Linked DNA regions of Homo sapiens: region 2 is linked to region 1. The links are contacts of gene promoters, found by promoter capture Hi-C in blood cells and fetal thymus (Javierre and others, 2016). All regions are on one chromosome and are shown on one strand. The core of a region is centred on a gene start or on the middle of the fragment in contact, and the rest is flanking DNA. Distances in the headings are between cores, read along the strand shown. Region 1 holds the start of ZFP3 (ZFP3 zinc finger protein). Region 2 overlaps ZNF594 (zinc finger protein 594).

Region 1 (7,365 bases), core at 2,020-4,519:
CAGCTACTCGGGAGGCTGAGGCAGGAGAATGGCGTGAACCCGGGAGGCAGAGCTTGCAGTGAGCCAAGATCGCACCACTGCACTCCAGCCTGGGTGATAGAGCGAGACTCCGTCTCAAAAAATAAAATAAAATAAAATAAAATAAAATGAAGAAAAGAACAATTGTGAAAAAATGTGAGAGAAGAGAAACCTACAGGCCACAGGCCCATTCTTAAGCAGATCACTCATAGGCAAGGATACAAAATAAAGTCAAGGATCTAGAAGTTGATTTCCATTCAACAATCTATGTGCCCAAAGATGTTACAGAAAGTGTCTGTGTACCCCCTCCACATATTTCCATCTGAAGACCACTGCACTATAGCATTCCGGACAGAAAGTGGGCAAGCAAGAGGCCAGGAAGTACAGGAGGAGTAAGAAAAGAAACAGACATCACGGCTAACACGGTGAAACCCCACCTCTAGTAAAAATACAAAAATTAGCCAGGTGTGGTGGAAGGCACCTGTAGTCCCAGCTACTCGGGAGGCTGAGGCAGGAGAATGGTGTGAAGCCCGGGGCAGGCCGAGCTTGCAGTGAGCCAAAATTGTGCCACTGCACTCCAGTGCAGAGTGAGACTCCATCTCAAAAAAGAAAAAAAAAAAAAAAGAACAGAAACAGAAAAAACATTGGGATTTCAATGTAGCATGCACGGGGTGGGATAAATATGGAGGGGAGATGAGCCAGGCAGCACTGACATTTTGATGTGGAGGCTAATGATAAGCTCTCACCATGTGCTAAGCAACTTACAGACATTAACCCTTACCACCACCTCATGAAACAAGCAAGCTGGAGAGCATCAGAGTGAAGAGGGGCCAATCACCATGCTCTCCTGACTTCTTTCAGTGGCAGTTTTGGCAGCCTGAGAATCCAGGGAGATGTGTGGTGGAAGACTGAGGAGGCGAGGCCTAGGGAGGTTAGTCAGGACAGAGCTGAGATGACTAAGTGAGATACGGATGGAAATGAAGGGGGGCTGGGAGGAGTGGGGTGCTAAGAGATGGAGGTTACAGAGAGGGTGAAGGATGTGATGAGCACCTTCTTTGTGCTCCAAGGGAAGGTAACCAAGGGAAGGTATCTGGGAAACTGGGATGAGGTTTTATTTTGAAATGTCGAAATTTTAATACCTCAAAAATAATATCCTTTGAAACTCATTAAAATTTATGATGAGAAATGGAAATGTTTTGGATGTCAACTTGCAAATGTATAAAGAGACACAAACCTTCCAAAATTATTTTACGGGGTATGTGAGCAAAAATATTTGCAGTGGCTTTGCTTTCCTTGCCAGAGATCTAACCTCATCCAAGAGCTCCAGCAGGACACTCCAACTGAGTTAACCCAGTCAAATAAATGCCCTAATTCTTGCAAGGCACTGGTTCAGAAACAGCAAGGATTCGGGAATTCCTGGTTTGGAAATGGACATCCACCTTCATCTGGGTCAATATTTTGAGGACGTTTGCTGGGAGCTTCTGGGAATAGTTTCCTGCCATCCTGAGAGAACCATAGGAAAATACTTCCATATATTATTGCCTGTACCTGCTGCTGCCATCTCACTACCAGCCTGTGGATGAGGGCAGCTAAAGCTCAGAAAAACAAGGGAGATGCTGCCAGGGCCACTGGATTAATCAGTCCTGAAACCACGATACCTATTTTTTTTTTTTTCTTTGGAGATGGAGCCTCGCTCTGTCTCCCAGGCTGGAGTGCAATGGCGCAATCTTGGCTCACCGCAACCTCCGCCTCCCAGGCTCAGGCGATTCTCCCACCTCAGCCTCCCAAGCAGCTGGTATTACAGGCATCTGCCACCACGCCTGGCTAATTTTGTATTTCTAGTAGAGACAGGGTTTCACCATGTTGGCCAGGCTGGTCTCGAGCTCCTGACCTCAGGTGATCCGCCCACCTTTGCCTCCCAAAGTGCTGGGATTACAGGCATGAGCCATCACGCCCAGCTGACCCCCTCCATTTTCTTCCCTGACCCCCAGGCTCTAAGGCAGACAGCTACTCCTTCACCTTGTAGCAGCTACCCCACTGCATTATTAATTTTTCATACCTATTTTCTTCTCTAGACCATAAGCAAGGATGCTGTTCCATTCATCCTGGTATTCTGAGTACCTAGCATATTTCAGATACCTGGTAAATGTTAAGTGAATTTGTGTAACTGTCTTATATATATAATGAATCTGCAATACCTCCCTTTTTTCTGAGACAGGGTCTTGGCTCTATTGCCCAGACTCACTGCAGCTTCAACTTCCCAGGCTCAAGAAAATCCTCCCACCTCAGCCTCCCAAGTAGCTGGGACTACAAGCATGCGCCACCACACCCAACTACCCAACTAATTTCTTTGTTTTTTGTACAGATGGTGTCTCACTATGTTGCCCAGGCTGGTCTTGAACTCCTGTGCTCAAGTGATCCTCCCGCCTAGGCCTCCCAAAATGCTGGGATTACAGGCATGAGCCACTGCACCCAGCCTCTGTAATACTCTTGATGGCTAACTGGATATTTCATTCATCATTATATCTAAAGAGCCTAGGATAGTGTCTGACACATAGCTGGTGTCGATAACTGTTTGTAAAAATAAGTTCCTTTTCCCAATCTGGGTGATATTTAATTTATGGCACTGTTAACCTCCTTTCCTCTCTTCTCCCTCTGACCCACAATAGGGCTCTATCTTTGCAGCTCAAACCTGTCTCCTTTTCACGACCACCCCTCATAAGCCAATATCTTGTCTGGCAGCACAGGGCACAATCTGCCACTAGGGCGTTAAGTTTGTGACACTGCCCGCCATTTCGTCCTAGCGGTTTACTTGGGGGTGGAATGTCTGAGAAAACCACAGCTCCCACGGGTCCCCACCTCGGTACAGAAGGGAGTGTCCCTGCTTCTCCCACCCCCACGGCTGACAGGCACCAAACCAGAGCTGGGACTGTCCCTGGCGGTGTCCAGGCCCCACCCTCTCTGTGTGCAGGTGGAAATGAAGGCCTGGGGGCGGGGGGAATGGAGGGAGGCATAAACTTCAAGGTCACACAGCGAACCCCGGTCAGAACGGGCCTAAACGTAGGGTTTCCGCTCGGCTCTCTAGGGAGCTGGGAGCCCAGCCCCCGCCTACCCCCACAGCCGCGACGGAATGAGGTCTCACCGCAGGCCGCTACTGCCCCGCGCTCGCTCACTCCGCTGAGGCTCCGCGCTGCTGGGCCGCTCGCACAGAGCCCGCAGCTGTTGTCCCGGTGTCACTGGCGACGGGCATCGGCCACTTCCGGTACCCGGGCGGCACTCCAGCCAATCGGCGCGCGTCGCACTCCGCTGGAGGAACAGGTGGTCAGCGCACCGACGCCCCCTTGCCTTTTCCGGCTTGCTTTTCGCCGGTTCTAGCCCTAGCCCAAGTTCCACGTCGCCGCCGCCTGCCGAGCCGGCTCCCTGGAACAGCAAAGTGCACCCGTCGATGCCCACTTCAGCCCCGGAATCATTGACGACCTGAGTCCTCCGGGTTTCCTAGAACGGCTCCGGGGATGAACTTCCGCTCCGCGATCTGCCGCTCTGCGCCCTCGTGTCGCTCCCCAAGCATTGCTCTAGGCTCAAGAACTCGAGAATCCGCTTCGCATTCCCGCGGGGACCGTTTGCGCGACCCTTTTAACTCTCCCAACCCGCATCGTTCTTATCCCATCCTTCCTTTCCACAGACTCCGTGGGTCTGATAAGCACAGGGCTGCAGATCCTGGGAACAGGTCTCTCCTCGGCGGGAGCGAAGGGAGACATGCTTTGAGTTCCGGAAGGGCTTGCAGGAGTGACGTTTGGCCTGAAATCTCAAGATTGCGTGGGAATTACCAAGGTTAAGAGTAAAGGCCTAGGTTAAGCTGCCGAGGCCACGGAAACAGCATTCTGCAGCTAGCCTTCCTGGGTTCCCTGAGCAAGCTTGGCCCATTCTCACCTCAGAACCTTTCCTTGTTACTTCCTCTGTAATTTTGCACAGCCAGCTTGTTTTCTTGTTTGTTTGTTTTTTGAGATGGAGTTTCGCTCTTGTTGTCCAGGCTGGAGTGCGATGGCGCCATCTCCGCTCACCGCAACCTCCGCCTCCCGGATTCAAGCGATTCTCCTACTTCAGCCTCCCCGAGTAACTGGGATTACAAGCATGTGCCACCACGCCCGGCTAATTTTGTATTTTAGGTAGAGACGGGTTTTCTCCATTTTGGTCAGGCTGGTCTCGAACTCCCGACCTCAGGTGATCCGGCCGCCTCGGCCTCCCAAAGTGCTGGGATTACAGACATGAGCCACCGCGCCCGGCCTCCAGCTTGTTTTTGTTTGTTTTTTGAGGCGGAGTTTCGCTCTTGTCGCCAAGGCTGGAGTGCAATGGCACGATCTCTGCTCACTGCAACCTCCACCTCCCGGGTTCAAGCGATTCTCCAGCCTCAGCCTCCAGAGTAGCTGGGATTACAAGTGCCAGCCACCACGCCCGGCTAATTTTTGTATTTTTAGTAGAGACGGGGTTTCACCATGTTGGTCAGGCTGGTCTCGAACTTCTGACCTTAGGTCAGACCTTAGGCCCACCTTGGCCTCCCAAAGTGCTGGGATTACAGGCGTGAGCTACCGCGTCCAGCCAGCCAGTTTGTTTTTAGGTGTCAGTTCCAAGATCACCACATTGAAGACTTTCATTCTATATAATGTTGCCTCAGAGTACACTATCCTTCCCAAATATCAGTTACAAAGGACTATGATTAGCCCTGTTTGGGTCTGGTGCTCAACCATGGACCAATCAAGGGGGAAAGGACCGTGTGATTTACCAAGCCTGGTCACCTGCCTTCCCGCAAGGATGACGGCGGGCTTCTGTGTTTGCCTCACCATAATCCTATGAAATAGGGAAAGGAGTGACCACCCTTAGAAGGGAATATTGTGTTTGTATGCCACACACAATCTAGCAGAAAGAAAACTTTCTCTTGAATTCATCATTGCCATTAGGCCCTAGACTCTAGGGTCCATCACTTTAGCCACTCTGGTACTAAAATCCTTAACTCCCTTGCCCTACTGTCTGCAACTGCATGGGAAGTTTGTTAACTCTGATTCAATCAGAATATCTATTTTCCGGCCGGGCGTGGTGGCTCATGCATGTGATCCCAGTACTTTGGGAGGCTGAGGCAGACAGATCACAAGGTCAGGAGTTCGAAACCAGCCTGGCCAAAATGGTGAAACCCATCTCTATTAAAAGTACAAAAATTAGGGCCAGGTGCGGTGGCTCACACCTGTAATCCCAGCACTTTGGGAGGCGAAGGCGGGAGGATCACAAGGTCAGGAGTTCGAGACCAGCCTGGCCAATATGGTGAAACCCTGTCTCTACTAAAAATACAAAAATTAGCCAGGCATGGTGGTGCATGCCTGTAGTCCCAGCTACTCGAGAGGCTGAGGCAGAAGAATCACCTGAACCTGGGAGGCGGAGGTTACAGTGAGCTGAGATCACGCCACTGCACTCTCGCCTGGGCGACAGAGTAAGACTCCATCTCAAAAAAAAAAAAAAAAAACTACAAAAATTAGTCAGATGTGGTGGCTCGCACCCGTAATCCCAGCTACTCGGGAGGCTGAGGCAGGAGAATCGCTTGAACCTGGGAGGCAGAGGTTGCCGTGAGCCAAGATCACGCCACTGCACTCCAGCCTGGGCCACAGAGCGAGATTCTATGTCAAAAAAAAAAAAATCTGTTTTCCTTGCCCATGCGGCTAATGGTGAGTGGGAAAAATATATTTTGTTTAAGAGTCCTAAGGTAATCTTATGGTCTCTGCTTTCCACAGGCCCAGAAATCACTTTCTGTTTCCCTACTCAGCTTGTCTACCATTTTCCACGGTTGCCATTGCAACCTTCCTCACTCTGCTCAAAACTTTCTCCAAGCCGTGATCCAAGAAAAGTCCATTTCCATCAAAATCATTGCAAGCTACATTTATCCCAAGGAAAGACGCCCAGACTACAAAAATATCCTGCCGCAGAACCAAGGGTGGAAGATATTTGGTTTTACTGAGCTTTATCTAGTACACCTGCATTAATGGGTGTCTGCCTCAAGAGCCTAAATCGTGATTCTCAACCTTGACTGTGGGGAAAAGCAAGAGAGATCAGATTGTTACTGTGTCTGTGTAGAAAGAAGTAGACATAGGAGACTCCATTTTGTTCTGTACTAAGAAAAATTCTTCTGCCTTGAGATTCTGTTAATCTATAACCTTACCCCCAACCCCGTGCTCTCTGAAACATGTGCTGTGTCAACTCAGAGTTGAATGGATTAAGGGCGGTGCAAGATGTGCTTTGTTAAACAGATGCCTGAAGGCAGCATGCTCCTTAAGAGTCATCACCACTCCCTAATCTCAAGTACCCAGGGACACAAAAACTGCGGAAGGCCGCAGGGACCTCTGCCTAGGAAAGCCAGGTATTGTCCAAGGTTTCTCCCCATGTGGTAGTCTGAAATATGGCCTCGTGGGAAGGGAAAGACCTGACCATCCCCCAGCCCGACACCCGTAAAGGGTCTGTGCTGAGGAGGATTAGTATAAGAGGAAGGAATGCCTCTTGCAGTTGAGACAAGAGGAAGGCATCTGTCTCCTGCCTGTCCCTGGGCAATGGAATGTCTCGGTATAAAACCCGATTGTATGCTCCATCTACTGAGATAGGGAAAAACTGCCTTAGGGCTGGAGTGGGACCTGCGGGCAGCAATACTGCTTTGTAAAGCATTGAGATGTTTATGTGTATGCATATCTAAAAGCACAGCACTTAATCCTTTACATTGTCTATGATGCAAAGACCTTTGTTCACGTGTTTGTCTGCTGACCCTCTCCCCACAATTGTCTTGTGACCCTGACACATCCCCCTCTTCGAGAAACACCCACAAATGATCAATAAATACTAAGGGAACTCAGAGGCTGGCGGGATCCTCCATATGCTGAACGCTGGTTCCCTGGGTCCCCTTATTTCTTTCTCTATACTTTGTCTCTGTGTCTTTTTCTTTCCTAAGTCTCTCGTTCCACCTTACGAGAAACACCCACAGGTGTGGAGGGGCAACCCACCCCTACACTTGACTGCACATTGGAATCACCTGGGGTCTAAAATCATGGCTGTCTGGTGCCTCCCACATAGACTCTGTTGAAATTGATCTGAAAAAAGATCTGGACGTGGATTGTTTTGCTTTTAACTTTCCAGGTAATTCTGACCTACAGCCATGGTTGAAAACCAATAGCATAGGCCAATGGTTCTCAAAGTGTGGTCTCTAAACCAGCAGCATTAGCATCACCTGGGGACTTGTTAGAAATGAAAATTCTTAGGCCCCACCCACAGATCTTCTAAATCAGAAACTCTGGAGTTGGAGCTCAGAAATGTGTTGTG
Region 2 (7,365 bases), core at 1,800-4,299, 100 kb before region 1:
ATCAGCATGACCTGGATGTGAGACCTGGAGTCAAAGGAGATCATTTTGGAGGTTTAAAATTTGATTGCCTTGCTGGATTTCGGACTTGCATGGGCCCTGTAACCCCTTTGTTTTGGCCAATTTCTCCCATTTGGAACAGCTGTATTTACCCAGCAATACCTGTACCCCCATTATATCTAGGAAGTAACTAGCTTGCTTTTGATTTTACAGGCTCATAGGAGGAAGGGACTTGCCTTGTTTCTGTTGAGACTTTGAACTGTGGACTTTTGGGTTAATGCTGAAATGAGATGAGACTTAGGGGGACTGTTGGGAAGGCATGATTGGTTTTGAAATGTGAGGACATAAGATTTGGAGGGGCCAGGGGCAGAATGATATGGTTTGGCTCTGTGTCCCCACTCAAGTCTCATCTTGAATTGTACTCCCATAAATCCCATGTTTTGTGGGAGGGATATGGTGGGAGATAATTTGAATCATGGGGGCAGTTTCCCCCCTACTATTCTCATGGTAGTGAATAAGTCTCATGAGATCTGATGATTTTATCAGGGGTTTCTGCTTTTGCATCTTCCTCATTTTCTCTTGCCACCACCATGTAAGATGTGCCTTTCACCTCCCACCATGATTCTGAGGCCTTCCCAGCCATGTGGAACTGTAAGTCCAACTAAACCTCTTTTTCTCTCCAGTCTCAGGTATGTCTTTATCAGCAGCATGAAAACGGACTAATCCACTGGGGAAGGTCAGGGATTTGATAACGTGGACCCTCAAAAGCAATAAGCTCATCTATCTTGTAATTTCAGAAGAAATCAAATTGCCACACAAAAGGAGGCAATTCCATCAGAATATCAGAAAGAAAAATGTGAGGTCTGAGAAGAAGAGAATTGATTTCTATTGAAATGACAGCCAAACGTTTTTATTCTGAGGCATAGTACAGATTTGCTTAACTATCATGATATATAGGGAGGAAAGAGCAGTATGCTGGTTATTAATTTATTGCCTCTCAACTCCAGATCCACCCATCTTTGTTTGCTTTTGTTACAAAGCTGGATTCTGTAAACATTTCTCCTTTGCCAGTTCGTACAAGATTTGACTTTGTCAACAGAGGATGCTGGAGGGACAATGCGTGGCCATGGGAAGAGAAACTAACTTCCTGGTACCGGTGTGCTGTTCTATTTTTATTTATTTATTTTAATTATTTACTTATGTGGCTGCTAGCAGATCAACTTGTGGGAGGCCTGGTGGCATTTACCCTAGTGGGTTGCTTCCTGTGAACCAGTTCAGGCCCAGCCACACCATCCAGCAAGTTCCTCCCCCATCCAACAGGCCACTTCCTGTGGACCAACTCCAGATTGCCCTCCTCCCCCAGTGAATTAATTCACCACCCTTTAGGCCACTCCCACAGCCCAGCTCCAGCCTGCACCCTGGCGGGTTTTTTCACCAACAGGGTATGTGGTAGCACAGGTTCCTGTGTTAGCCACAGTGTCGCTAGTGAAAGCCACATCTCAGCTTTGGCAGGGAAAGGTCTTCTGAGTTCTTTGTTCCTCCCTCTTAGACTGCCCAGTATAATGAAGAGATGATATTTGTATTTTAGGAATTATAGAATGATCTACTTATCATTTCAGATTCTGAAGACAGGAATAAGATGAAGGAATGGAAATCAAAGATGGAAATTTCTGAAGAAAAGAAGTCAGCAAGGGCTGCATCCGAAAAACTCCAAAGACAAATCACCCAGGAATGTGAGTTAGTTGAAACCAGTAATTCTGAGGACAGATTATTGAAGCACTGGGTAAGCCCTTTAAAGGATGCAATGAGACATCTCCCTTCCCAAGAGAGCGGTATCAGGGAAATGCATATTATCCCCCAGAAAGCCATTGTGGGAGAGATTGGCCATGGATGTAATGAAGGAGAAAAAATACTTTCTGCAGGAGAAAGCTCCCATAGATATGAGGTTAGTGGCCAAAACTTCAAACAGAAGTCAGGATTAACTGAACATCAGAAAATTCATAATATAAATAAGACCTATGAATGTAAGGAATGTGAAAAAACCTTCAACAGGAGTTCAAACCTGATCATACATCAGAGAATTCATACAGGAAATAAGCCATATGTGTGTAATGAATGTGGGAAAGACTCTAATCAAAGTTCAAATCTTATTATACATCAGAGAATTCATACAGGAAAGAAACCTTATATATGTCATGAATGTGGAAAAGACTTCAATCAGAGCTCCAATCTGGTGAGACATAAGCAAATTCACAGTGGTGGGAATCCCTATGAGTGCAAAGAGTGTGGGAAGGCTTTTAAGGGAAGCTCAAACCTTGTCCTGCACCAGAGAATCCACAGTAGGGGGAAGCCATATTTATGCAATAAATGTGGGAAGGCTTTCAGTCAAAGCACAGATCTTATTATACATCACAGAATTCACACTGGAGAGAAACCCTATGAATGTTATGACTGTGGACAGATGTTCAGTCAAAGTTCACACCTTGTCCCACATCAGAGAATTCACACTGGAGAGAAACCCCTCAAATGTAATGAATGTGAAAAAGCCTTCAGGCAGCATTCTCACCTTACTGAACACCAGAGACTCCACAGTGGAGAGAAACCCTATGAATGTCACAGATGTGGGAAGACCTTCAGTGGGCGCACAGCTTTTCTTAAACATCAGAGATTGCATGCTGGAGAGAAAATTGAAGAATGTGAGAAAACCTTCAGCAAGGATGAGGAGCTTAGGGAAGAGCAGAGAATTCACCAGGAAGAGAAAGCTTATTGGTGTAATCAGTGTGGTAGGAATTTCCAGGGCACCTCAGACCTCATCAGACATCAGGTAACTCATACAGGAGAGAAACCATATGAATGTAAAGAATGTGGGAAAACTTTCAATCAGAGCTCAGACCTTCTGAGACATCATAGAATTCACAGTGGAGAAAAACCTTGTGTATGTAGCAAATGTGGGAAATCTTTTAGGGGCAGCTCAGATCTTATTAGACACCATCGTGTTCATACTGGAGAGAAACCCTATGAATGTAGTGAATGTGGGAAAGCCTTTAGCCAGAGGTCACACCTTGTTACACACCAGAAAATCCATACTGGAGAGAAGCCCTATCAGTGCACTGAATGTGGGAAAGCCTTCAGGCGGCGTTCACTCCTTATTCAACATCGGAGAATTCATAGTGGTGAGAAACCCTATGAATGTAAGGAATGTGGGAAGCTCTTCATTTGGCGCACAGCTTTCCTCAAACATCAGAGCCTGCATACTGGAGAGAAACTTGAATGTGAGAAAACCTTCAGCCAGGATGAGGAGCTTAGGGGAGAGCAGAAAATTCACCAGGAAGCGAAAGCTTATTGGTGTAATCAGTGTGGTAGGGCTTTCCAGGGCAGCTCAGACCTCATCAGACATCAGGTAACTCATACAAGAGAGAAACCATATGAATGCAAAGAATGTGGGAAAACTTTCAATCAGAGCTCAGACCTTCTGAGACATCATAGAATTCACAGTGGAGAAAAACCTTATGTATGCAACAAATGTGGGAAATCTTTTAGGGGTAGCTCAGATCTTATTAAACACCATCGTATTCATACTGGAGAGAAACCCTATGAATGTAGTGAATGTGGGAAAGCCTTCAGCCAGAGGTCACACCTTGCTACACACCAGAAAATCCATACTGGAGAGAAACCCTATCAGTGCAGTGAATGTGGGAATGCCTTCAGGCGGCGTTCCCTCCTTATTCAACATCGGAGACTTCATAGTGGTGAGAAACCCTATGAATGTAAGGAATGTGGGAAACTCTTCATGTGGCACACGGCTTTCCTCAAACATCAGAGACTGCATGCTGGAGAGAAACTTGAAGAATGTGAGAAAACCTTCAGCAAGGATGAGGAGCTTAGAAAAGAGCAGAGAACTCACCAGGAAAAGAAAGTTTATTGGTGTAATCAGTGTAGTAGGACCTTCCAGGGCAGCTCAGATCTCATCAGACATCAGGTAACTCATACAAGAGAGAAACCATATGAATGTAAAGAATGTGGGAAAACTCAATCAGAGCTCAGACCTTCTGAGACATCATAGAATTCACAGTGGAGAAAAACCTTACGTATGCAATAAATGTGGGGAATCTTTTAGGAGCAGCTCAGATCTTATTAAACACCATCGTGTTCATACTGGAGAGAAACCTCATGAATGTAGTGAATGTGGGAAAGTCTTTAGCCAGAGGTCCCACCTTGTCACACACCAGAAAATCCACACTGGAGAGAAGCCCTATCAGTGCACTGAATGTGAAAAAGCCTTCAGGCGGCGTTCACTCCTTATTCAACGTCGGAGAATTCATAGTGGTGAGAAACCCTATGAATGTAAGGAATGTGGGAAACTCTTCATGTGGCACACAGCTTTCCTCAAACATCAGAGACTGCATGCTGGAGAGAAACTTGAAGAACGTGAGAAAACCTTCAGCAAGGATGAGGAGCTTAGGGGAGAGCAGAAAATTCACCAAGAAGAGAAAGCTTATTGGTGTAATCAGTGTGGTAGGGCTTTCCAGGGCAGCTCAGACCTCATCGGACATCAGGTAACTCATACAGGAGAGAAACCATATGAATGTAAAGAATGTGGGAAAACTTTCAATCAGAGCTCAGACCTTCTGAGACATCATAGAATTCACAGTGGAGAAAAACCTTATGTATGCAACAAATGTGGGAAATCTTTTAGGGGCAGCTCAGATCTTATTAGACACCATCGTGTTCATACTGGAGAGAAACCCTATGAATGCCCTGAATGTTGGAAGGCCTTCAGTCAGAACTCACACCTTGTCAGTCATCAAAGAATTCATACCAGAGAGAAACCCTTTGAATGTAGCAACTGTGGTAAGGCCTTCAGTGGGTGGACAGCTTTTCTTAAGCACCAGAAACTTCACATTGGAAAGGAATTTGAAGACTGTAAGAGTCTACAAACAGGACCTATTCTAATAGGTAGCAGAAACCTAATGAATGCAGTAAAACTAGGAAAAGTCTGATGGAGACCACATCTTATTGCACTACAAATGAGTTTTATTAGAAAAAAACCATGGGAAGGTGGGAAAGCAGAGAAAATACCTACTGGATTTTTCAAACGTAAGTATAATCAAGTGGAAAAGCCAAAAGCTCTTGGACATAATCACCTTTTTTTTTTCTGTCTCAGAACTGACACTAGAATATGGTCCCAACGATACAATTTTTTAAATTATTTATTTTTTAACATACAAAGAGATGAGGTCTCACTATGTTGCCCAGGCTGGACTTGAACTCTTGGGCTCAAGCACTCCTCCCTCCTCAGCCTCCCAAAGGGTTGGGATTACCGGCATGAGCCACTGCACCAGCCCCAGGGGTCTAATTACTTGAGAATGTTTTAAGGGATGTCTATCATTATTAAAATCATTATAAATCACTTTGGCAACAACCCCAAAACTAAATTATTCATGGAAAGAGCCATTTCAATCTTGACTTCCTAGTCGAGTGACAAGTTTAAATGTGGGAAAAAACCCTGTGAAAGTAATGAGTGTAGGCCAGGTGCGGTGGCTCGTACCTGTAATCCAGCACTTTGGGAAGCCAAGGTGGGCAGATCACGAGGTCACGAGTTGATCATGAGGAGTTACTATGCCCAGCCAACATACTAAAACCCCGTCTCTACTAAAAATAACAAAAATTAGCCAGGCATGGTGGGGCACGCCTGTAGTCCCAGGTACTTGCGAGGCTAGGGCAGGAGAATCACTTGAACCTGGGAGGTGGAGGTTGCGGTGAGCCAAGATCATGCCACTGCACTCCAGCCTGGGCAACAAGTGCGAAACTCCATCTCAAAAAAAAAAAAAAGTCTAACTCTTCTGCTTGTCTTTACAATGCTGTACAGTGAGAGCTAATGTTTATAAGGATAAACAGGATACTTACAGGGATTTGAAGGTAATTTAATTCAGTGGTTTCCAACTTTTTAATCACCAAGGCCTTCTTTTTACTCCCCTATGTCCTGTGTCTTAAAAGATTATGTTTACCAAACTGCATTTATTAAAGAATTATATTTTGCTACATAAAGGCATGTACAACACAAATCATGCTTCTGACTGGCACCATGTAGGCAGACCTAGGTACTAAAATTCCAGCCCAAAGCAAATAATTTACCATTTTCATTAGTCTTTTTATTCCTTTTGTGGGCAAACATATCGTCTATGTTAGGCTTTTTGAAATATTAACTATGACTTGTAAACTCCAGATTAAAAACTAACCAATTCATCTTTGATGGAGCTTGAATCAAACTAAGGGTATTGGACTTTTGAAAGATTGAAATTTTTGTTACAGTATGGAATGTTTTTAACTGAATGTTGAAATAAAAGTTATTTAAGAATTACTTAGTGACTGTTTAGTATGTGCCAGGGGCCGTAATTAGATGGGGCTGAAGAAAGATAGTCATTGTTGAATCTTCTTCAGGTAGACCAGGTCCTCCTTGAGGTTCTCAGGCTGCATCTCCAGGTTGGCTCCGGCCAGGGTCAGCTTGTCCAGCCCCTGGTGCAGCTCCAGAGACCCAGCCTCGCTTGGTGCAGAAGTCATTGGCAGCCAGGTGGGCATCATCCACCTGTAGCCAGCACTTCTCCATTCTGCCAACGTCTCCGGCCTGGTGAGTCTGGATGTGAGCGCATCCCAGGGGGCCCAAGGCACAGAGAGAGAGAGGAACGGGGTGGAGGGAGGGAAGTGTGTGCAGGGGCCAGGAGCGCCAGGCTGCTCGGGCTTCCCGGCCCCTGCAGCCCGCCAGGAGCTGTGGCCAAGGCAGAGGCCTGCCCTGCTGCTGCTGGCGCTGTCACCTCCCTGTGGTCCTGCCTTCTGGGTCCTTGAGGGCCTCCTGTCATCTGGAACTGGAAATAAGTTAGTGAAGCGACGTTTTGTGAATATTTATTGGCCTTTGCGTCTTTGTCTTCATTTTCAGTGCTGGCTTTTCTGTTGGGTCATTTGTGTTCTTATGTTGATTTGAAGAATTTAAAAAGGTATTCTATAAATTAATCCTTTATGGGGTCATTTCTAGTGCAGATAGTTGTTTCTTAGTCTGGTCATTGTACCGTAATTTTATTTCACATTTCTTTCTTGCTGGTAAATAAGAATCTAATTGATTTTATATATTGATTTTGTATCTTGTTACCTGGTTTAATTCACATATTCATAGGCATCATTTTTGGATTGTGGTGGGTTTTTCATGTACTTATGTACATGTAGTTATGTACTTATGTACTTAAATACTTAACGTACTTACATACTTATGTAGTTAGTGTCAGCCACATATAATAACACCTATATTGCTTAAATGTTGGTTCTTACACCTTTATTTTTCTTTATTTTCTTCTTTTATTGTCCCCATCACACCTC

Evidence for each region. Contacts are between HindIII fragments. The CHiCAGO score rates a contact against its expected background, and 5 or more counts as called.
Region 2: a fragment that was not itself captured here is called in contact with the fragment with the promoter of ZFP3 in region 1 in 2 of 17 cell types (M1 macrophages and M0 macrophages); the score reaches 6.2 in M1 macrophages.

What each region holds. Positions count from the first base shown.
Region 1 is chr17:5,074,371-5,081,735 of GRCh38, reverse strand. It overlaps ZFP3 (ZFP3 zinc finger protein), which reads right to left and starts at 3,269. Exons shown (of 2, transcript NM_153018.3): 1 at 3,161-3,269. ZFP3-DT (ZFP3 divergent transcript) reads left to right here and starts at 3,623. Exons shown (of 2, transcript NR_186458.1): 1 at 3,623-3,849; 2 at 5,796-6,058. RefSeq lists enhancers at 3,493-3,562, 2,930-3,801. The HindIII fragment of the contact is 11,376 bases long and covers 1-3,934 here.
Region 2 is chr17:5,178,528-5,185,892 of GRCh38, reverse strand. ZNF594 (zinc finger protein 594) reads left to right here. Exons shown (of 2, transcript NM_032530.2): 2 at 1,617-6,358. The coding sequence starts at 1,637. The coding sequence ends at 4,060. Among named protein-coding and RNA genes, the nearest start is that of ZNF594, 9.7 kb to the left of the region's middle. The HindIII fragment of the contact is 576 bases long and covers 2,762-3,337 here.